5 separate regions of the Homo sapiens genome follow, and all the other regions are linked to region 1. The links are contacts of gene promoters, found by promoter capture Hi-C in blood cells and fetal thymus (Javierre and others, 2016). All regions are on one chromosome and are shown on one strand. The core of a region is centred on a gene start or on the middle of the fragment in contact, and the rest is flanking DNA. Distances in the headings are between cores, read along the strand shown. Region 1 holds the start of IPO7 (importin 7). Region 2 overlaps DENND5A (DENN domain containing 5A). Region 3 overlaps DENND5A (DENN domain containing 5A). Region 4 overlaps DENND5A (DENN domain containing 5A). Region 5 overlaps DENND5A (DENN domain containing 5A).

Region 1 (4,547 bases), core at 1,353-3,852:
TCACTTTGTGAAGAGATTCATTCAAATGTCAATGATCTTATTCTTTGGTTCTAAATGAACCAAAACACAGCTTCACTGGAATGAGAGACATCATAGAATAATTCGTTCTTCTATCTTCTCCAAAGCAAGAGCCTTTCAGAAATGTTACTTCCTCATTCTTAACAATATTCAAGACTTGTCTGAGATCTGTCTCCCAAATCAATGTTCTGCCACAAGAAAGTCAAAGCAAAAAATATTTAAATGGAAGAAGGGAGAGGGAGAAGTAGTGTATTAAAATGGAATGAAAGTAAATATACTAATAGAAAATTTACCTTAGGAAGAATATTTAAAAATCTAGGTGTTATAATTGAAAGAAATGTATGAAATGTAAATAGTTAAGGATTACAAAAATAAAGGCCATGTAACAAATTTTCTTTGACAGATTAGCGGTGTTCACTGTTTGACAGTATTCCAAAACAGTAGTTTAATGGTTAAGTAAAAAAGGCATTGAATACTATTTTGATCATTTGTTTATCTTCCAAAAACTAGCTTGTGAAATACCCCAGGTTTCTACTACAAGATGTTAGTGCATATACTAGACATGTAATGTCTATTTGAGGAATAAATGAATTTCAGATTTTCAGGAAGTATTATTTCCCCCATTTTTGTAGAAGCAAACCAACTCTTCAAGTACTCACTTTTAAAATTAATAATTACATGCAAGTATAATTAGTCAAAATAATACGCGATTAGAGCAAAGTCATGGTAGAAATGACCATGACTAAACTTTTAGCTTTTCTAGGCTTGTAACTGCATTACTATTTAATAAGCAAAATAATTTTCAACTTAACCCATGTCTATCACTAAGCAAATCAAAACAAAAAGTGATCCATTGCTCCTTCCATAGTTTGGTAATGGTTCAAAATGGTAATACGGTTCAACTCACTATTTTATATCCAAAAAAATCTAAGCTCCTCCCAAGGTGACTCTGAGTCTAAAAATTTGAACATGTAATCATCACTTTGTGTGGTATAATAATGATCTCATTTACATATAAAATAGATTTAACATTCTGAAATAATTTTACATTTAATTTGTGTAAACTCTGTAGGTAGTCTTCTTGAACTGTAAGTTCCGTGAGGGCAGGGATCTCTAGTGCAGCCCTTTACACTGAAAGTCCAGTTAGTAATATTTCTGCTGTTTCTGGTAAGTCAATATAAACAATGTTTTTAAATTATTTACTTACCAGCTAAAAGACGCATAAAATAGTTGAATTTCTATTTTAAAGTGTGATTTCTTTTTCAGTTAAAAAATGTACACTAAAGTTCAGTAAAGCTGGCAGATTCAGCAGCATGCTGAAGGACAGTTACTAACTGGCAGAAAAGTTACAGCAGCCCTTTTAAGAAGGATTTAAAATACTGATCATTAATACGTAAAAATGCAAAAGTTTAGAAACAAAGAATGACACTGGAGATAGTACAATAAATATTCATGCAATTAAGCTGTTTTCCAAGGAGCGGTCCCCACAAAATATGGGGGAAAAAAAAAACCTTCAGAGAATGCAATATCTGAACTGATAAGGAGCTCAGCATGTTCCAAGGCACTCAGACTTAACATTATCTCACCTGTCTGTCACAGCAACTCTGTGGCGTAATTTTATGAATGGGAAAAACTCAGGATCAAGAGGTTAAGCGACTGGCCCAAGGTCACTCAAGGAATCAATGGTGCAGCTATACCTAGAAGGGTGCACTTCACCTGATCCTTCCCACTACATAAGCCAGCTCCCCGACTGAAGCATTAGGACAGCGGAAAAGCAGGGATCAGACTCTGTGAGTGTCCCGCACTACTCCTATCCTGCCAAGGAGGCGCGGGCTTGCCTTTGAAAGCCTTCCCTAGCAACTCAGCCAGAGAGGAGGAAGTTGTGCCCGAGGCAGGCCACTGATCAGCCCAGCAAAGTGACAAGGATGACAGGCGCAGCCCCCAAAGGACCAGCCGGCATTCCCAGGAGCCCTTCCAAACCCTGCGACGGCGAGACTGGTCTCAGAAACATCTGAAAAACCTCCCAGTAAGTTTCGCCCCCTCCTGGACGTGAGGAACCAGCTGGGAATGAGCCAGAGGTCGGCCAGCCACCCGAGCCAGCCATGTGTCCAACCCGTCACGCCCGCCCCGCCTCAGCCGGCTCCTCATGCCTAGACCGCAGCCAGAGGCCCAGCTCAGGATCCGAAGCAAAGGCAGCCTTGGCTGCAGCCACCACCACCACACCACACCGAGGCGCCCCGGCGTGGAAGTCGCCGTCAGATGTCCGCCCCACCCTCCTGCTGGGACCCTCAACGACGTCGTCCGCGCCTCCGGCCAGGCCCCGGGGGCTCGGCCTGCCACTTCTGCCCACCCGCCTGCCCGCCGCCACCGCTAGCCGGGCGTCCTTACTTCATTGAGCTGGCGCTCCGCGGCCTCACGCAGGGCTGGGTCCATAGTGCCCCGCAGGGCCTCGATAATGGTGTTGGGGTCCATCGCAGCGCGGACTCGGTCAAACCCGGGGCTCGGGTGCTACTGGGCCAGGAATAGCGCCACTCACTGCGCACATGGACCCGCCGCGCTCCGCAGCGGCAACCGGCGCGAAAGGAAAGAGAAGCGCCAAGGCCCCGGATAGAACCTCTTCGCCTCGGCGTGGAGGCGGGAGATGCTCCGGCGACTTCCTGTGGGCGCGCCTGCGGAGCACTTTGGGAGATGTAGTCCACAAACACAGTCCGCAGCCCACGTGGCTGCCTGAGCTGTCGTTCCTACAGACAAGTCTTTCTGTTCAAAAACGAAAAATGTTCAAGTTCCACAAAAAGAAAAGCAAAACAATCAGTTACAAAAGGTTTCACATACTATATCCACAATGTTCATAAAGGGAGTCAGATACAGTGTGTGGTGCAATCGATTGCTAATGGCTGCGTGATTGAAGGAAACTTTCTGAAAAGCAATTTGAGATGTGTTTCTGATAGCCACTAAAATATTTAAACTGCCGGGCGCGGTGGTTCACGCCTGTAATCCCAGCACTTTGGGAGGCCAAGGCGGGCGGATCACGAGATCAGGAGATCGAGAGCATCCTGGCTAACACGGCGAAACCCCGTTTCTACTAAAAATACAAAAAATTAGCCGGGCGTGGTGGCACGCGCCTGTAGTCTCAGCTACTAGGGAGGCTGAGGCAGGAGAATCGCTTGAACCCGGGAAGCGGAGGTTGCAGTGAGCCGAGATCGTGCCATTGCACTCCAGCTTGGGCAACAAGAGCGAAACTCCGTCTCAAAAAAACAAAACGAAACGAAATGTTTAAACTCTGACCCAGTAATTCCACTTATGAGACTTTATCCTAAGGCAATAACACGGAAGATTAAATGAACTTTATGTGTGAAAGGTTTTTATCACATTACGTATTAGTAATTACCAAATACTGAAATCATGGCTTTTTATTGAGTATCCAAATTTTAGTTGGGACTTCATATAAATCACCTCTTAATGCAGAGTAAAAGCATAATCCCTATTAAAATACACCTTCCTGCCAGGCGCGGTGGCTCACACCTGTAATCCCAGCACTTTGGGAGGCCAAGGTGGGCGGATCACAAGGTCAGGAGATTGAGACCATCCTAGCTAACACGGTGAAGCCCCGTCTCTACTAAAAATACAAAAAATTAGCCGGGTGTGGTGGTGGGCGCCTGTAGTCCCAGCTACACTGAGGCAGGAGAATGGCGTGAATCCAGGAGGTGGAGCTTGCAGTGAGCCGAGATCATGCCACTGCACTCCAGCCTGGGTGACAGAGCGAGACTCTATCTCAAAAATAAATAAATAAATAAATAAAAATAAAAGACACCTTCCTAGCCAGGCGTAATCCTCCTGTTGAGGCAGGAGGATTGCTTGAGACCAGAAGTTCAAGGTGACAGCCTGTTAAGATCGTGCCTATGAGTAGCCACTACGCTACAGCCTGGGCTACATAGCGAGACCCCATCTCTAAAAAAAGAGGGAGGTGGGGGAGAAAGAAAGAAAGAAAAAGTCCTCTTTTATAACAGCCAAGAAAAAGTTTGTTTTAGAAAGGTTAAATAACTTACCCAAGGTCACGTAGTAAGAGGTTCAACTAAGATTTCAAACCTAAGATCTTTGTTTTCAAACTTTCCATTGTTTCCACTAAATCACTCTGCCTCTGAAGAGAAATGTTGAACAATATAGGACTGGTTAAGCAAATAGCAAGAATCCAGTAAATTAAATATTTCACAGCCATTAAAAAATATAACAAAAAAGTATTTATGGAAGGATATAGCTTTGTAACATGGACAAAGACTGAAAAGCAAGGTTAGCAAATGAAAATAATTTATTTTCTATTAACAGGATGGTGAGATTTGGAGTAATTTCCTTTCATATCTGTTATTATTGTAACAAAGTTATATAAACAGATATACTTAAAATTAATTATAAGCCTTCAAATACAATGTGTTAAATGATCACTTATTGTTTTTAATTTACAAAAAAAAGAGAAGGAAAGGCTCACGAAAGCCTTTCCCTGAAGCGGTGGGTTTTGCAATGTTACTACCTTG
Region 2 (4,547 bases), core at 661-3,160, 240 kb after region 1:
GTGTATCGTGTATGGTCACACACTGCATAAAATGTGCTGCGTAACAACATTTGTCAGTGACGGACTGTTTATGGGATGATGGTCCTATAAGATTATACTCTGTTTTTACTGTACCTTTTATAGGTTGAGATGTTTAGGTACCCAAATACTTACCATTGTGTTTTAGTTGCCTACGGTATTCAGCACAGTATTCCTTCATTTTTATTCTTCAGGCTGCTGTGGCAGGAAGCTCCAGGAGAAGTGTAGAAGAGCAGGCCTGGGGGCTGGTGACAGGGCTGTACCGATTTGTAGCTTAGGAGCAACAGGCTAGACATATAGTAGGCTCTACCATCTAGGTTTGTATGAGAACCCTATAAAGTTCGCATGGTGACGAAACTGTCTAATGACACATTTCTCAGACTGTATCCCTGTCATTAAGCAACACGTGACTTATGTGTGTGGTGATCTGTCGGGGTAGGGATGACAACGTGTATGTAACTCGGGGCAGAGGGGCCCCATTTTGAAAGGAAAGATCAAAATCACACCACTGGGGAAGTTTGAAGCAGAGTATATCTAGTTATTCCTTCATTAGACATTTAAATGGCCTTATGGAAGTTGGTAGGAAGACAGCTGAATAAAACGTGGCCCCTTACCATTTATTTATTTATTTATTTATTTATTTTGAGATGGAGTTTCGCTCTTGTTGCCCAGGCTGGAGTGCAATGGTGTGATCTCGGCTCACCACAACCTCCGCCTCCTGGGTTCAAGTGAGTCTCCTGCCTCAGCCTCCCGAGTAGCTGGGATTACAGGCATGCGCCATCACGCCTGGCTAGTTTTGTATTGTTAGTAGAGACGGGGTTTCTCCATGTTGGTCAGGCTGGTCTTGAACTCCTGACCTCAGGTGATCTGCCTTCCTTGGCCTCCCAAAGTGCTGAAATTACAGGCGTGAGCCACCATGCCTGGCCAACATTTAGAAGCTTACTTGTCCTAATTAAATACAGAGCATGGAAGAAGGTTTTGAGGGTCCAAAAATGAAGTGTACATTCATACAATATGCTGAAAAGGTAGAGGAGAAAGATCAGAGAAGACTTCAGGGAGGAGTTGGTATTTAAGTGAGCCTTTAATGGAAGGAAATAACAGAACGTGGCAAGGGCAGTAATAGGAAACACAGTTGAAAGGAGGGTAGGGCCCCTGAGCTGGGACAGAGAAAGATTCTTTTCATATTAGTACAAAGTTGTTTCATCAGGGGACTGAAGTAATATTAATCTGATATTATGGGTGGTATGCATTAGAGTGGACATGATTATTAGGGGCTATTCCTGTAGGTCAGGTGAGAGAGCATGAAGCTCAAATAAACTTAAGGCAGTTTATTCAGGCTGCATAAAGGGAGAGAATTGGCATAGTGGTTAAAAACAGACTCCAGAACCGCATTCACTAGGTTCAGATCTCAAGTTATCCATTTACTAGCCATGTGATCTTGGACAAGCTACTTAACTTCCATCTACCCTACTTTCTTCATCTATAAAGTGGGGATAATAATAGTACCTACCTCATATCACAGGGTTATCATGAAGATTAAATCTCTTATGTCAGTGCCAGCACATGCTGAGTGTTATGTGAGGTTAGTGCTTATTATTATTCCTGGTGGTGGTAGCTGTGGGAGGAGAGAAGCTCTGGGAGACACCAGTGGTGGGGCTGACTAGGCAGGGCGAGGGAGGCAGGGGAGGAGGAGGCTTGGAGGCTCATGACAGGGCTGATTTGGGTCAGGTTTGTTTGGTGTCCTGGAGCTGAAAGACCTCTTTGCCAGTCCCTGTTTGGGAAAGGGGGGTGTGGGGGGCTGTCAGCTTCTCCAGCTTCAGACTTAGTTCATGGTTTCCCCCTTGGCCTTGCACTAACGCTCTCTCTTCCTTTTCCTTTGCCCCTCTGACCTGCCTGGACTGCTCCCGCTCTGCCAGAGATCACCTCCTACACCACTGGATTGCCCTGCTGGCTGACTGCCCCATCACTGCACACATGTATGAGGATGTGGCACTGATCAAAGACCATACACTTGTCAATTCCTTGATTCGTGTGCTGCAGACATTGCAGGAGTTCAACATCACGCTGGAGACGTCCCTTGTCAAGGGCATCGACATCTGACCTCCCAGCACCAGCCAGCAGCAGGACTGAGAAAGACTCACCCTGCAGCTCTGACCTTTTTTCCCAAAGGGACTTAAGCGATTGTGCAGGAGTAGGAGACAAAATGTACACTCACTGTAAAAAGAAAACTAGAGGATTTTTGGAATAAATAATCTATTTTAGAGTTTATTTGCTGATTTGCTTTTTACACACTTTCATGTGAAAGAGTGATAGGGAGAGGGAGCGAGGCTGGTGCCGCTTATTTTGAAGCTGGTGCCCTCCCTCGCCGTGGCCACATGCTGGAAGCCTGAGGCCTCCCTGGACTGAGCCTGTGGCACTGCGTGCGGGACAGTTATGTTTCCTTGCCCCGTCGCATTAATGAGGCCCTTCCACATCATTTTTAAACTAATGTTTTTCTATATTAACATTATTATGGATATTTGGCTTTCATAGGCCACACACAGGTGTGCTGCGCGGGAAGCCCCATGCTCCAATCAAAGGGATTTTTAGTAGTGCCTCTAAGCAAGCACCGATGAGTCAGTCCCACGTATTTTCTTTTTTGTCAGTATTGTTTGGGAAGGAGACATGCCGGGATGTGTCATCGTGCCAAATACCACATTTCCTGTTGGCACAGTTTCACAGAAGTAAACATAAGCATGTTTTAACAGGTTTTTCTTTTCTTTTTTCTTTTTTAAAATGTTTTATTTATTTAACCCGCCATTGTGTGTTTTTAAGTATTTTCTTTTTTTAAGGAAAGGAAAAGCTTGTCACAATCTAACTGGCTATGTTATTATTATTAAATTTATGTTTTGCAACTTAGAAACCAGCTACAGTATGGCCCACTTAATAAAACACCTGAAACAAAAACTGCATGGATCACTGATTTTTATGGAGGTTTATGAGCAGTGGGTGGCTGCGGGTGCAGTTGGGTCCATCTGTGAGGATGGTCTTGTGGCATCACCTCTCTTTACCAGCAGGCTCGGGGTTGTGGCCTGCCCAGGATGCCCCTGAGGGCCTGGGGTCTCCTGGGTCCTTCTGCCCGCAGTGCTAGGAGCCTTCCTAGCTGTTATGTGGCTGATTCACATGGATGCAGACAGGGTTCTTTCCCCACTCCACAGAGGAGGAGACTGAGACACAGGAGGGAAAAGACCCGGCCAGGGGTGCAGAGGTTGTCACTTGACTGAGACAGGATGGGCCCTTTCTTGAGAGGGTAAGGGAGACCAGGTGTGGGAAGCTGGGGGTCGGGGGAAGCTCTTGAAAGAAAGGTTTGCTTTCCTGGGGATGGCAGGTGGGAGACCTTTATGAGAGGTCCAGCTTCGTTCATTTTTATTCTTCAGGCTGCTTTGGCAGGAAGCTCCAGAAGAAGTGTAACGTGATCAAGTCAGGCACCTCAGACCAATCAGTGCCCTCTTTTATGCTTTCCTGGTTTGCATGCATTTTCCCTTTGCCTGGAATGCCTCCCCTTCACCCACTTTGTGTTTGTTGTACAGGGTTTACTTTAGCAGTCACCTGCTGTGAAGTGTCCCCAATCTCCCTAGGCAGTTAATCATTCCATCCTTGTGCTCCTTCATTTTCTTAGATGCTGGCATCTCCTCTCTGGATTGTCATTGCCTGCTTTCGTGTCAGGCTCAGCCCTTGCACCGTGAGCTCCCAGAGGGAAAAGGGGGATCTCTTGCCTGTCTCCATCCCCTGGGCCTGGCAGGTGGTAAATGCTTCTGAAGAGATGAGGAGAGGGCCCAGAGAGCTGCAGCGCAGCGTCCTGCCTGCAGAGGGGGTGAGAGGCCACACTGCAGCCGTCTGCCTGGAGCCCACGGACAGAGCTTTAGTTCTCTCGGAGAAGGCCGAGGAAAGGGGAAGGAAGGTAGGCAGTACCTCTGGAGCAGGAAGTGGGATTCTTGGCTGGGCAAGAAGGGCAGCATGGAACTCAGCTGTATGTGTTTATATTGTGGGCCTAGGCCTGAGCTTACCTTAAGGCAGGTGCTGGGACCAACTATTTCCTTGCTCTTTGTAACAGCTGATCCTACTCACTTTCTACTGTGTTTTGTTTTGTAATCTTCTGCAAATCTGTTTTGGAATGATGTGTGATATAAGAGAACAGACCTGTTTAGTAGCTCAAGATTTCAAGGACATTTGAGTCAACTGCGTTCTTCCGTGTAGGGCCCAGCCAGGCCTCTCCAGTGGTCCTGGGTAAATCAGGTGTGTTTGGTTCACTCAGCAAGCAGCCCTGCCTGCCTCAGCTTCTGCACCTGCTCTACTTCAGGGCTTCCCAGGCTGTGATTTCAGGGACTGGTAAATAAACAAGCAAGCAAAGGAACTCAGGGAATTACTATAAAGCAAGCACCCTTATAATCACCACTCAGGTCAAGAATAGAACTTTGCCAGCCCCCCAGGGTCCTCCATGTTCCCCCTTCCCCATCACAGTCCCAGCACCTCCCTTCTTCCATCTTAAC
Region 3 (4,547 bases), core at 1,345-3,844, 220 kb after region 1:
GAAATACATATCAATTTTAGACATGTTAATATGTGGGAAAATATACATCTAGAATTGAAGAAATATAGTAATCAATGTAACATCACAAAGTATTGGCTTGCACGTGAGGCAACAGGCTGTTGAAAGTATAAATTGGTATGATGATTTTGGAAAACAGCATAGTATTGTTTAGTAATTCTTCTCCTAGGTATATTCCCTAGAGAAACTTTTGGAGCATGTCCCAAGAGATATGTACAAGAAGTTTACAGCAGCATTCTTTTAATAGCCCCAAACTGGAAACAACCAATCAGTTGAGAAAGCCAATCAGTAAGAGAATTAATAAGTATATTGTGGTGTATTCATGTGGTGGAATGCTATACAACAATGGAAATGGATAACAGTTATACACATCAGTGTGGATGAATTTCACAAATATAAACGAGTGAAAAAGCAAATCAGAAGCCAGGAGTATCAGCACACACCTGTGATCCCAGCTACTTGGGAGGCTGAGGTGGGGGGATTGCTTGAGCCTGGGAGTTCGGTTCCAGCCAGGGCAACATGCTGAGACCCAGTTTCTTAAAGAAAAAAAAAAAAAAAAAATCACAAAAGAAACATGCATGCCTATAGTCCCAGCTACTGCGGGGGCTGAGGTGGGATGATCAGTTGAATCTGGGAAGCTGAGGCTACGTGAACCATGATCGAGCCACTGCACTCCAGTCTAGGCAACAGAGAGAGACCCTGTCTTAAAGATACATACAGGCAAACCAAACCATATATTTTAGGGTTAAAAATATAGGTAATAATTTTCTTGCTTTTCTGTAGTTTCGTTGGGTAAGTGGTCACTTCTAGAGTGGGAAGGTGAATGGAAGAGGGCACGTAGGGTGCTTCAAAGATATAAACAGACAGTATTTATAAATAAAATACTGGCCAGGCGCAGTGGCTCATGCCTGTAATCCCAGCACTTTGGGAGGCTGAGGTGGGCAGATCACTTGAGGTCGGGAGTTTGAGACCAGCCTGACCAACATGGAGAAACCCCATCTCTACTAAAAATACAAAATTAGCCAGGCGTGGTGGTGCATGCCTGTAATCCCAGCTACTCGGGAGGCTGAGGCTGGAGAATTTGCTTGAACCGGGGAGGCGGAGGTTGCAGTGAGCCGAGATTGTGCCATTGCACTCCAGCCTGGGCAACAAGAGCGAAACTCCATCTCAAAAAAAAAAAAAAAAAAAAAAGAAGGAACTGGCCTGGCGCTGGTCATAATGATGTAATAGCATATATATATTATATATTTCACAATAAGAAGGTTAAAAACTAACAGTGGAAAGAAATATGCCAAAATATTAAGAGTTGTTGCTTCTGAAAAGTAGGATTGGGGTGATTTGTTTTCCTTTTCTTAGATTTTTATATATCACAAATTTATAGCATAGTTAAATCTTACTTTTGAACTTGGACTCAAAGTTCAGGCAGATATGGGTTCAAAGGCCAGATCTATTGCTACTTTGCTGTTTCATTTTGGACAATATATATATATATATAATTTAATAGAGTGCTATATTACGTATAGATTTTGGGCAAGTTACTTAAGAGAATTAAACTATACTTAGACTATAAATATACTATATTGTTTTATACTATGTTTAAATTTAGTATATTGATTACTGTATTTCTCAATTTCCGTATTGGTAAATTGGGAACAATAATAATAGTTACCTCAGATTGTTAGGAGGCTTAAATGAGATAATGAAATGCTAAGTACAATGCCTGACATAGTACTTAATAAAAACTGTGATTATCATTATGCAGTATGTGTTTTCTTGGTTATGATCTTACAATAAGCAGTTGAAAATTTTTATGTAAAATAAATTACCTCCTCAATTTTTGTCCCCTTGACAGTTATTTCAGATATGTTTCTAAGTTGTATGTATGCTCAAAGGTTTGTTTGGTAGGGTCATTTAAGCAGTGGGAATCAGACAATGTCAGAGATAAGCATGACTGAAGGGTTTATTTGTTTCTTGCATAAATGCAAAAACTGAATACAGAGTGATGAAATCACTGGCCAGGAGTCATAAAGATTGCTGTGTTCTTATCCTTTCCTTAACTACATATTTTTTTTTTTTTGAGACGGAGTCTCGCTCTGTTGCCCAGGCTGGAGTGCAGTGGCGCGATCTCAGCTTGCTGCAAGCTACGCTTCCTTGGTTGACGCCATTCTCCTGCTTCAGCCTCCTGAGTAGCTGGGACCACAGGCGCCCGCCACCACACCTGGCTAATTTTTTTGTATTTTTAATAGAGACGGGGTTTCACCGTGTTAGCCAGGATGGTCTCGATCTCCTGACCTTGTGATCCGCCCAACTAGGCCTCCCAGAGTGCTGGGATTACAGGTGTGAGCTACCACACCTGGCCTTTCTTAACTAAATTTTTAAAGCATGCACTCCCTTGTAACCTGACCTACATGGGTATAAATATATTCTGTGTCCTTGGGGCTAATTCATCCTGTCCTTCCCAGCCCAACAGATGTACTGTGCAGGCTGTCAGAACCCTCTCCGGTTGTATGTAATCCTGCTCACTGTGGTTATTTAATCCTGTTGACTGCTTCCTTGTAGACCAAGAGGATGCTGGTGGAAAAGATGGGCCGAGAAGCTGTGGAGCTAGGGCATGGGGAGGTGAACATCACAGGGGTGGAAGAGAACACCCTGATTGCCAGCCTTTGTGATCTCCTGGAAAGGATCTGGAGTCATGGACTACAAGTGAAACAGGTAATGTATGTCTTGCCTCTCATTGCTGAGCAAATTGTCTTCCTGTTTTCAGTTACTAGCTTTCCCACACTCTTTTTGTCCAGCTGACTGGCTTTGAAGAATGGTGCACAGTGCCCTGGAGTGAGATTTGAAATAAACAATTAAATAAATGTGATCCAAACTATTTTCCTTAAAGATAGGCTTTATAAATCTGTGTGTTTGTCAGACTTTTAAAAAGAGGCATCTTTCTTCCTGGGGGTAGAGCTGAAGGCCAACCTGATAGGTCCTGTTTGGCAGCTGGCCCTAGTCTAGAGATAGACCAGAAAGAGAGAAGTTGGAGCTCAGGAAGTACCAGTCATACACTAAAGGTTCTTCACTAATCATATATTCACAGTGGAAAAAAAGTCTGTCATTAACATTTCTTTTGTATGCAGATGGTTTAACTAAACATTTGAGAGAAGGCCTCAGGAAGTTGAGTAAGTTTGATTTTTCCACTTAATACCCAGAGAATTTCCTTATTTCAAAATACTCTGTTTTCAATTGGTAGTCAAGATAGATACCTTTTATTTTTATGTATTTTTAAATTTGAAAATAACTTGAAATTTTTTGAAAAGAAGTTTTATCATGGAAAAATTAGAAAATACATATTAGTATCCATTGGTATTTCTCAAGGGCCTACTATGTCAGGTACTGTTGTAGGCACTAGAAATACCTCAGTGAACAAAACAGACCAAGATCTCTTGCCTTCCTGTGTCATTCTAATGGGTATAGCAACAATCTTCCACACATGTTCTTCAGAGCATTCTTCTGTGTACATATGCCCATGCGTATATAGCTGTATATTTAAAAACCCAGTGGAACCACAATGAGATACTATTTCACATCCACTGGAGTAGTTAAAATAAGTAACAAGTGTTAAGGATGTGGAGAAATGGGAACTTTCATACATTGCTGATGGGAATGTAAAATGGTGCAGCCACTTTGGAAAACAGTCTGGCAGTTCCTCAAAATGTTAAACAGTTCTTATATGACCTAGCAAGCCCACTTCTAGATACATACTCAAGATAAGTGAAAACATATGTCTACACAAAAACTTGTATACAAATGTTCATAGCAGGCCAGGCGCAGTGGCTCACACCTGTAATCCCAGCACTTTGGGAGGCCAAGACAGGTGGATCACTTGAGGTCAGGAGTTTGAGACCAGCTTGATCAACATGGTGAAACCCCGTCTCTACCAAAAATACAAAATTAGCCAGGTGGTGGTGCATGCCTGTAATCCCAGCTGCTTGGGAGGCTGAGGCAGGAGGATCGCTTGAACCCAGGAGGCAGAGGTTGCAGTGAGCCAAGATTGCACCATTGCACTCCAGCCTAGGCAACAAGAGTGAAACTCTGTCTCAAAAAAAAAAAAAAAAGAAAAAAAAGTTCATAGCAGCATTAGTCATAATAGTGTCATCTTATGTGGCTATTATGACCCAGATATTTATCAGCTGATGAGTGGGTGACCTAAATTTGGTATAATACATTGGAATATTATTGAGCAATAAAGGGAATAAAGTACCTACATGTGGTACAACATGGATGAACTCTGAAAACATACTAAGTGAAAGAAGCCAGACACAAAAGGCCACAGATTGTGTGATCTCATTTATACAAAATGTCTAAAATAGGCAAATCCACAGACAGAAAGTAGATTAAGGGTTGCCAGAGGCTAGAGGAAGGGAGCAATGGGAAGTGACTACTAATGCATATGGAGTGTCTTTTGGGGGTGATGAAAATGTTCTAGAATTAGATAGTGGTGATGATTGCACAACTCTATACTAAAAACCAGATTTTTTTGT
Region 4 (4,547 bases), core at 827-3,326, 190 kb after region 1:
GTCACTGGCTGGCGTGTGCAGCTGTGCAGTCTCGGCTCACTGCAACCTCTGCCTCCCAGGTTCAAGCAATTCTTACGTCTCAGCCTCCCAAGTAGCTGGGATTACAGGTGCATGCCACCACGCCCGGCTAATTTTTGTATTTTTAGTAGAGATGGGGTTTCACCATGTTGGTTGGCCAGTCTGGTCTCGAACTCCTGACCTCAAGTGATTCACCTGCCTCGGCCTCCCAAAGTGCTGGCATTACAGGCGTGAGCCACCATGCCCAGCCTCTAGGGAAGCTTTTTATTGAAACGTTATAATAACATTTTTATGCTGTTCTCATTCAGGAAAGGTTGCCAGGTGTAGAGCAGACTTGGCTAGTGTGGAAAACCAGCTTCTGCATGCTTGGTGGTTCTTTGTGCTTGACTTTGCAGGCAAAGCTCACATAAGCTCCTTATAGGATGTTCTGCAGATGTATCTTAGTGAGAACTGAGCATGTTTTTGCTTCCATGCTGAATGGAGACCCAGGACCACTGTCTTTCTTTTTGTTCAGTTCTCCTACCCCCTTTCTTAAGAGGATCTACTTAACATTCTGTGGTAGTATTTGGAGCAAGATGTCATTAATTATTTTTGTTGTATTTCCATATTAGATTTTATTATGAGCAAGGACCTGTGTGTGTAGGTTTATTTCAATTTGTGGTCCACAAGGGTCTCTTGGTTGTCTCTTGGACACCCTCAAGGGAATCACATTGAGCATACCCTAGCTGAAGTTTATCGTGATCGTTTCTAAATAAGAAATTGTACTGAAAGTTTTAACTTACTGTTTGGAAAGCAAGTGCCTTGTTTTTGACTGATTTGTGTGTGTGCTTTTTTTGTTGTTGTTGACCCAGATTACCAGAGACTGATGACTGTGGCGGAGACGATTACAGCTCTCATGTTTCCTTTCCAGTGGCAGCATGTCTATGTCCCTATTCTCCCAGCTTCTCTCCTGCATTTCTTAGATGCTCCTGTTCCATACCTGATGGGTTTGCATTCCAATGGCCTGGATGACCGGTCAAAGCTGGAGCTGCCTCAAGAGGTGAGATCTTGAGTGTTGGTGCCTCTGGCCCCAATCCAGGATTGGGGAGAGAAGGGCTTTGGGATGAACCCAGCATGCATGATGTTACCAAGTTTATTTTCTTCTATTTTGGTGATTATGAATAACTTCTCAGGAAAAAAGTAAAAACAATGAATATTTAGTTCAATTTATGTCATCCCAGAGACACTTATTATCTTTATCAACTGACATATGTACATTGTAATTTCTGTATTTATGCTATTGTTTTTGTTTTGTTTTGCTTTTTAAGAGACAAGGTCTTGCTGTGTTACCCAGGCTGGGTGCAGTAGCATGATCGTAGCTTACTGTAGCCTTGAACTCCTGGGCTCAAGTGAGCCTCCTGACTCAGCCTCCTGAGTAGTTGGGACTAAAGGAGTGTGCCACGATGCCCAGCTAATTGTTTTTTTATGTCTTGTAGATGCAGGGTCTCACCATGTTGCCCAGGCTGGTCTCGAACTCCTGGGCTCAAGTAATCCTCCTGCCTTGGCTTCCCAAAGTGTTGGGATTATAGGCATGAGCCACTGTGCCTGGCTAAGAAAAGAATTGATTTAAAATAATGTATTTCCTATTCCATTCTAAAGTAGATTTAAAGCATGATTAGAAATAAGATTTTTTATTTTTAATTTTTTTAGAATTACCAGCAGAACTGGTATGTTACTTTGTGGCTGTTGTGAAACTACCTGCAGGGAAGTGCTTTCCTACTTTGAATTTCTTAGTCATTAGAAAGGCCTGGGAAGAAGACTTTGGAGTATACATACACTGGTGTCACCATGACTCTTCGTTTCCTCCTTCCACCACCATTTTTTTGGGGGTAGAGTTTTTTTTTTGTTTTTTTTTGTTTTTTTTTTGAGACGAAGTCTCGCACTGTCACCCAGGCTGGAGTGCAGTGGCACAATCTTGGCTGACTGCAACCTCTGCCTTCCAGGTTCAAGTGATTCTCCTGCTTCAGTCTCCCAAGTAGCTGTGATTACAGGTGCCCACCACCACACCCGGCTAAATTTTTGTATTTTTAGTAGAGACGGGGTTTCACTATGTTGGCCAGGCTGGTCTCGAACGCCTGACCTCATGATCCACCCGCCTTGGCCTCCCAAAGTGCTGGGATTACAGGCGTGAGCCACCGCGCCCGGCCGGGGGTAGAGATTTTTGTATATAAGTGAGGAATATAAGTGAGGGGCCCCAAGAAGAGAGCATTCTCATGGAACTGGATCTGGGCAGCACTGTGTCACTGGTCATGACTGGGCAGCATCTTTGATGAATACCCTGATAATTAGACCATGTCTGTGATATTTAAATTATAGTCAAATGCATCTCTGCTCTTTTCTCTCTTCTTTAGTTTTAGAATCAAAATGTCTTCCTTGTCTTCCTTGTAGCTTCTTCCATTTCTGCCCTTTTTTCTTCTTTGACTTTATAGAGCGTTGTGCTCTTTGGGGTGGAACAAGATTAATTAAGGAAAAAAAATCTAAATGATGGATAAAATCATTGAGTTGAGATAATATTGGGGTTTTTTGTGTACTTGCTTACTGTACCATACATAAACCTGAAGAGTCGACTGGAGAAAGAAGAGCTTTTTGTTGTTTGCTTTAAACAAATGTCTATTTAATATTGATACAACTTAGTCAACCTAATTATGATTCTGTAAAGTCACAAAAAGAACAATAACAAAAAATTGTTGAAGGTGGAAGGCCAAAGAGGCAAGCTATGTGCATACTTTAATACATAGGCCACTAAGCAAGAAGCCAGATTTCTCAGTTTTATTTTCCTCTTTGGCATCAGCTTTCTTTATACTTGGGGCAAATTCTGATCTCTCTAGGATTTTTCAACGTTGTTCCCTATGTGCTTCATGTATACGGCTATACAAAGGGACCTCTGAGGGATCAACAGATTTCTTAATGGGACTGTTTAAGAAACCATGGGTTGTTTAAGAAACCCAAAAGTTGGCCGGGTGCGGTGGCTCACGCCTATAATCCCATCACTTTGGGAGGCCGAGGCGGGCAGATCACCTGAAGTCAGGAGTTCGAGACCAGTCTGGTCAACATGGTGAAACTCCATCTCTACTAAAAATACAAAAAAATTAGCTGGGCATGGTGGTGCACGCCTGTAGTCCCAGCTACGTGGGAGGCTGAGGCAGGAGAATTGTTGAAGCCCGGAGCCAGAGGTTGCAGTGAGCCGAGATCACGCCACTGCACTCCAACCTGGGTGGATCGCGCCACTGCACTCCAGCCTGGGTGACAGTGTGAGACTCCACCTCAAAAAAAAAACAGAAAAGAAACCCAAAAGTTCCCTCTGTTCTGGGCTATTGGAGCCTCCATGTTGCTGTATTCCCCATCCCTGCTATAAACTTTGTATCTGAGCTTCTGGCTCCCCTGTAGTCTGCTTGGGAAGGAGTGGTGACAGTGGAACAGTAGAATTAACTGTGTGTGCTTCATAAGTGGTTCTTGGGTTTCAGAGTCCTAGTTCATCCACACCTGTCTTCTGAAGGTCACACATTTGTGGGAGCAGTTATATAGCTGGATATTTTCTACCTTGATTTTTAGCAGATAAGCTCTGGGGTATCTGAGCCTATGTATTTCCCGTGGAAAACCTTAGACTAGGGGAAGAGAGCTGGCTTTGAAAGACGACTTTGGGGTGTCTCAGAAATGACATGTTCATAGTAAAAAATGCTAACAGTGCACAAAAGCATAAACAATAAAATTAAAATTACCTCAAATTTTACCACCCAGAGATAACTACTTTTGATATTTTGATGCACATCTTTAAAGTATGTGGTATCTTTTAACTACAGTCTTAGAAGGAAGCTTTGGGGCAGTGTATTAGTCCATTTTTACACTGCTGAGAAAGACATACCTGAGACCGGGCAGTTTACAAAAGAAAGAGGTTTAATGGACTTAGAGTTCCATGTGGCTGGGAAAGCCTCACAATCATGGTGGAAGGCAAGGAGGAGCAAGTCACGTCTTACATGGATGGCAGCAGGCAAAGAGAGAGCTTGTGCAGGGAAACTCCCCCTTATGAAACCATCAGATCTTGTGAGACTTATTCACTATCACGAGAACAGCATGGGAAAGACCTGCCCCCATGATTCAACTACCCCCTACTGGGTACCTCACACAACACATGGGAATTTAAGATGAGATTTGGGTGGGGACACAGCCAAACCGTATCACTCTGCCCTGGCCCCTTCCAAATCTTATGCCCTCACATTTTATAACCAATCATGCCTCCCAACAGTCCCCCAAAATCTTATTTCAGCATTAACTCAAAAGTCCATAGTCTAAAGTCTCATCTGAGACAAGACAAGTCCTTTCCTTATAAGCCTGTAAAATCAAAAGCAAGTTAGTTACTTCCTAGATACAATGAGGGTACAGGCATTAGATAAATATTGCCATTCCAAATGAGAGAAATTGGCCAAAAACAAAGAGCTGCAGGCCCCATGCAAGTCTGAAATCCAGCGGGGCAGTCAAATCTTAAAGTTCCA
Region 5 (4,547 bases), core at 1,011-3,510, 170 kb after region 1:
CAGGCTGGAGTGAGGTGGCGCTATCTCGGCTCACTACAACCTCTGCCTCCCAGGTTCAAGAGATTCTTCTGCCTCAGCCTCCTGAGTAGCTGAGACTACAGGCACTCGCCACCATGCCCGGCTAATTTTTGTATTTTTAGTAGAGACAGGGTTTCACCATGTTGGCCAGGCTGGTCTTGAACTCCTGACTTCAGGTGATCCACCTGCCTTGGCCTCCCAAAGTGCTAGGATTACAGGCGTGAGCCACCGTGTCCAGCCGATTGAATGTTTTAATCTCTGATTCTGATACCAAAGTTTTTTGTTTTTTGGGTTTGTATTCTTTTTTTAGACAGTGTCTTGCTCTCTCATCCAGGTTGGAGCTCAATGGCGCCATCTCGGCTCACGGCAACCTCTGCCTCCTGGGCTCAAGCAGTCCTCCCACCTCAGCCTCCCAAGTAGCTGAGTCTACAGGCACCCGCCACTATGCCTGGCTAATTTATGTGTGTGTGTGTACACACACACACTTTTTTTTTTTGAGACAGAGTCTCGCTTTGTCGCCCAAGCTGGAGTGCAGTGGTGCGATCTCAGCTTACTGCAACCTCTGCCTCCCAGGTTCAAGCAATTCTCGTACCTCAGCCTCCCCAGTAGCTGGGATTACAGGTACCCACCACCATGCCTGGCTAATTTTTTTATTTTTAGAAGAGACTGGGTTTTGCCATGTTAGCCAGGCTGGTCTGGAACTCCTGACCTCAGGTAATCTAACCCCCTCAGCCTCCCAAAGTGCTGGGATTATAGGTGTGAGCCACCTGTGCCCGGCCGGTATTTTCATTCATATTTTTTTCCATGTTGAATTATTATTATTATTATTATTATTATTTTTGAGACAGAGTTTCGCTCTTGTTGCCTATACTGGAGTGCAATGGCATGATCTTGGCTCACTGCAACTTCCACCTCCTGGGTTCAAGTGATTCTCCTGCCTCAGCTTCCCAAGTAGCTGGGATTACGGGCATGTGCCACCACGCCCGGCTAATTTTGTATTTTTAGTAGAGACAGGGTTTCTCCATGTTGGTCAGACTGGTCTTGAACTCCTGACCTCAGGTGATCTGCCCGCGTCGGCCTCCCAAAGTGTTGGGATTACAGGCATGAGCCACTGTGCCTGGCCCGAATTATTTTTAAATATCATACATTGCAAGCAAACTATCATTTTTTGCAATTTATAAGAAAGTTATGCCACAGGCGTTTAAGCACATCTATTTTTTTTGCTTTTAGTGTTCTTTGTCCTGCTTTAATTTTTTAGTATGATTTTTCTTATATACCACCTTGTTTTTTGACATAGGTGGGACATAAATCACAAATTGAAAAAACAAAACAAAACCAATCTCTCTTCAGAATGTTTTGAGGAGTAAGGTATTAAGCTTCATTTGAATCAAATTCCCTGGGCTTCTAGAGTGCTTTAACTGAGCCCCTTTCCTTTCTTTCTAAATGATGATATCCAATCAGAAAAAATGTGTTAATCTACTGCATTACTCCACATTCTTTGTCTCTGAGATTTGCAACATCTGAAAAATTTCTTTTTGTTATAGAAGTCTGTTGTGGTTTGTCCCTTGTGCAAGACCTGTAATGGACACCTTAAAGCAGTGGCTTAAAGTATTTTTTGGCTCACAGATCCCTTGGAAAATATGATGCAAGCTGTGGATTCTTGCCTGAGCCCCATCAATCTGGATTATTTGAGGTGTTGGCCTGCCAGGCCTATTGCACTAAAATCTTGGGATGTCCCCTCACCTTATCTTGGAGTTATCCTCTGTCACTTTCTCGTGATGGCTCCAGTTTCCTCCATCCCATATGTAAGTCGTTTTTTTTTGTTAATTCTCGTTTTGGCAGAGCATATGCTTCCTGAGAAAGGATTCATAGAAAATACATTCTTTTTTTGAGATTACATGTTTGAAATTTCTTTCTTTTACTCTCTTATTATTTGGCTGAGTATATAATTCTAACTGGAAATAATTTTCCCACAGAATTTTGAGGACATTGCCTCATTGTCTGCTAGATTCCAGTGTTGCTATTGAGAAATCCAGTGCTATTCAGATATCTTTCCTTGGTAAATTTGTTTCTTCCTGGAAACATCTAGAATTTTCTCATTGTCCCTGGCATTCTGAAATTACATCATGACGTGTCTTGGTGTGGGTCTGTTTTCATCCATTGTGCTAGATCCTTGAAGAGCACTTTCAGTTTGGAAGTTCATGCCTGTCATTTCTGGGAAACTTTATTATTTTGTTGATAATTTCCTCCCCTTTATTTTTTCTCTTCGCTTTTTATGGTATACTTTTATTTGGGTTTTAGACCTCTTGGATGGACTCTAATTTTATTATTTCTTAAATAAATAAATAAATTTATTTCATTTATTTGTTTATTTATTTTTTTGAGATGGAGTTTCATTCTTGTTGCCCAGGCTGGAGTGCAGTGGCGCGATCTTGGCTTACTGCAACCTCCACCTCCCGGGTTCAAGCGATTCTCCTGCCTCAGCCTCCCAAGTAGCTGGGATTACAGGCATGTGCCACTACGCCTGGCTAATTTTTATTTTTTTAGTAGAGGTGGGGTTTCACCATGTTGGCTAGCTTGGTCTTGCACTCCTGACCTCAGGTGATCCACCTGTCTCAGCCTCCTGAAGTGCTGGGATTACAGGCGTGAGCCACCACGCCGGCCCAATACATTTATTTTTGAGACAAAGTTTCACTCTGTCACCCAGCTGGAGTGCAGTGACACGATCACAGCTCACTCTAACCTTCATCTCCCGGGCTCTAGCGATCTTCCCACCTCAGCCTACTACAGGCACACTCCACCACACCCAGCTAATTTTTGTATTTTTAGTAGACAGGATTTCGCCATGTTGCACAGACTGGTCTCAAACTCCTGGGCTTAAGTGATCCACTCCCCTCGGCCTCCCAAAGAGCTGGGAGCCACTGCATCCCGCCTAAGCATGAGCTGAGCCTAAGCATGAGCCACTGTACCCAGACTAATTTTATTACTATTTTTTCTCTAATTTTATTTATTTTGTCCTACTTCTGAGGATATTTCCTCAAATCTATTTGCTAACTCTTCTGTTGAGTTTTAAATTTTTCTGACACCATTTTAATTTCCACAAGCTTGTTTTTTTTTTGTTTATTTTTTTGAGACGGGGTCTTGCTCTGTCACCCAGCCTGGAGTGCAGTGGTGCTATCTCAGCTCACTGCAGCCTCTGCCTCCTGAGCTCATGCAGTCCTCCTGCCTCAGCCTCCTGAGTAGCTGAGACTACTGGTGGGCACCACCATGCCTGGCTAATCTTTTAATTATTATTTTGTACAGATGGGGTCTTGCCATGTTGCCCAGGTTGGTCTTGAACTCCTGGACTCAAACAATCTCTACCCACCTTGGTGCTGAGATTACAGGCATGAGCCACTGCCCAGCCTTGTTTTATTTTCTGAATATTCTTTTAAAACAACAGTCTATTCTTGTTTTATGTATACAATGTCATCTTTTATCTCTGCATATCTTTTATCTGTGATAATAATTTTTGTGTGTGGGAAAAGATACTTTGTTGGAAATGACACATGCTTTGACAGTAGGAGACTGTATTTTACTAGCATGCCAAATTTCTTTTGTTGTTTGTCCTTTTATTTTTTAAATCACTTTATGAAGATATACTTTACATAGCCTAGTTTACCTGCTTACAGTATACAATTTCTGTTTTTTAATGTATTTGCAGAGTTGTGCAATCGTTACCATAATTTAATTTTAGAATATTTTAATCACTTTAAAAAGAAACTTTGTACTAATTAGCAGTCACTCTGTATCCCCTCATCCCAGGTAAACACTAATCTACTTTCTGTCTCCATACGTAGGCCTTTTCTGGGCAATTAATTAATTAATTAATTTGAGACGGAATTTTTGCTCTTATTGCCCAGGCTGGAGTGCAGTGGTGAGATCTCGGCTCACTGCACCCTCTGCCTCCTGGGTTCTAGCTATTCTCCTGCCTCAGCTTCTCGAGTAGCTGGAACTACAGGTGTGCCCCACCACGCCTGGCTAATTTTTGCATTTTTAGTAGAGATGGGGTTTCACCATGTTGGCCAGGCTGGTCTCAAACTCCTGACCTCAGGTGATCACCCGCCTCAGCCTCTCAAAGTGCTGGGATTACAGGCATGAGCCATCGCGCCTGGCCAGGACATTTTATATAAATGGAATGATACAGTATGTGATCTTAAGCCACTTGGCATGTTTTCAAGATTCATCTGTGTTGTAGCATGTAACAGTACACCATTCTTTTTTATGGCTGAATAATGTTCCATTGTATTATTATACATTTCATTCATCTGTTCATCAGCTGATGCCTGCTGATTCTTTCGTATTTATTTTTTTGAGATGGGATCTTGCTCTGTTGCCCAGACTATAGTGCAGTAGTGTGATCATAGCTCACTGCAGCCTCAAACTCCTGGGCTTAAGTGATCCTCCCACCACAGCCTCCTGAATAGCTGGTACTACAGATGCATACCACCATGCCTGGCTTATTATTATTATTATTTTGAGATAGGCTC

Evidence for each region. Contacts are between HindIII fragments. The CHiCAGO score rates a contact against its expected background, and 5 or more counts as called.
Region 2: a contact is called between a fragment that was not itself captured here and the fragment with the promoter of IPO7 in region 1, in 1 of 17 cell types (M1 macrophages). The highest score is 5.0, in M1 macrophages.
Region 3: a contact is called between a fragment that was not itself captured here and the fragment with the promoter of IPO7 in region 1, in 6 of 17 cell types (neutrophils, naive CD8 T cells, activated CD4 T cells and 3 more). The highest score is 8.5, in neutrophils.
Region 4: a fragment that was not itself captured here is called in contact with the fragment with the promoter of IPO7 in region 1 in 2 of 17 cell types (non-activated CD4 T cells and naive CD8 T cells); the score reaches 5.6 in non-activated CD4 T cells.
Region 5: a fragment that was not itself captured here is called in contact with the fragment with the promoter of IPO7 in region 1 in 2 of 17 cell types (activated CD4 T cells and naive CD8 T cells); the score reaches 5.5 in activated CD4 T cells.

The regions. Positions count from the first base shown.
Region 1 is chr11:9,382,707-9,387,253 of GRCh38, reverse strand. IPO7 (importin 7) reads right to left here and starts at 2,602. Exons shown (of 25, transcript NM_006391.3): 1 at 2,407-2,602. The coding sequence starts at 2,490. RefSeq lists an enhancer at 2,085-2,600. The HindIII fragment of the contact is 13,114 bases long and covers 1-4,547 here.
Region 2 is chr11:9,137,242-9,141,788 of GRCh38, reverse strand. It overlaps DENND5A (DENN domain containing 5A), which reads left to right. Exons shown (of 23, transcript NM_015213.4): 23 at 1,935-2,964. The coding sequence ends at 2,118. Among named protein-coding and RNA genes, the nearest start is that of SCUBE2, 48 kb to the right of the region's middle. RefSeq lists enhancers at 2,473-2,767, 3,581-3,770. The HindIII fragment of the contact is 1,904 bases long and covers 959-2,862 here.
Region 3 is chr11:9,158,896-9,163,442 of GRCh38, reverse strand. DENND5A (DENN domain containing 5A) reads left to right here. Exons shown (of 23, transcript NM_015213.4): 12 at 2,578-2,730. Among named protein-coding and RNA genes, the nearest start is that of SCUBE2, 70 kb to the right of the region's middle. The HindIII fragment of the contact is 7,618 bases long and covers 1-4,547 here.
Region 4 is chr11:9,190,004-9,194,550 of GRCh38, reverse strand. DENND5A (DENN domain containing 5A) reads left to right here. Exons shown (of 23, transcript NM_015213.4): 5 at 870-1,057. Among named protein-coding and RNA genes, the nearest start is that of DENND5A, 73 kb to the left of the region's middle. The HindIII fragment of the contact is 3,592 bases long and covers 281-3,872 here.
Region 5 is chr11:9,216,860-9,221,406 of GRCh38, reverse strand. The region is part of intron 1 of DENND5A (DENN domain containing 5A); the gene reads left to right. Among named protein-coding and RNA genes, the nearest start is that of DENND5A, 46 kb to the left of the region's middle. The HindIII fragment of the contact is 1,728 bases long and covers 1,397-3,124 here.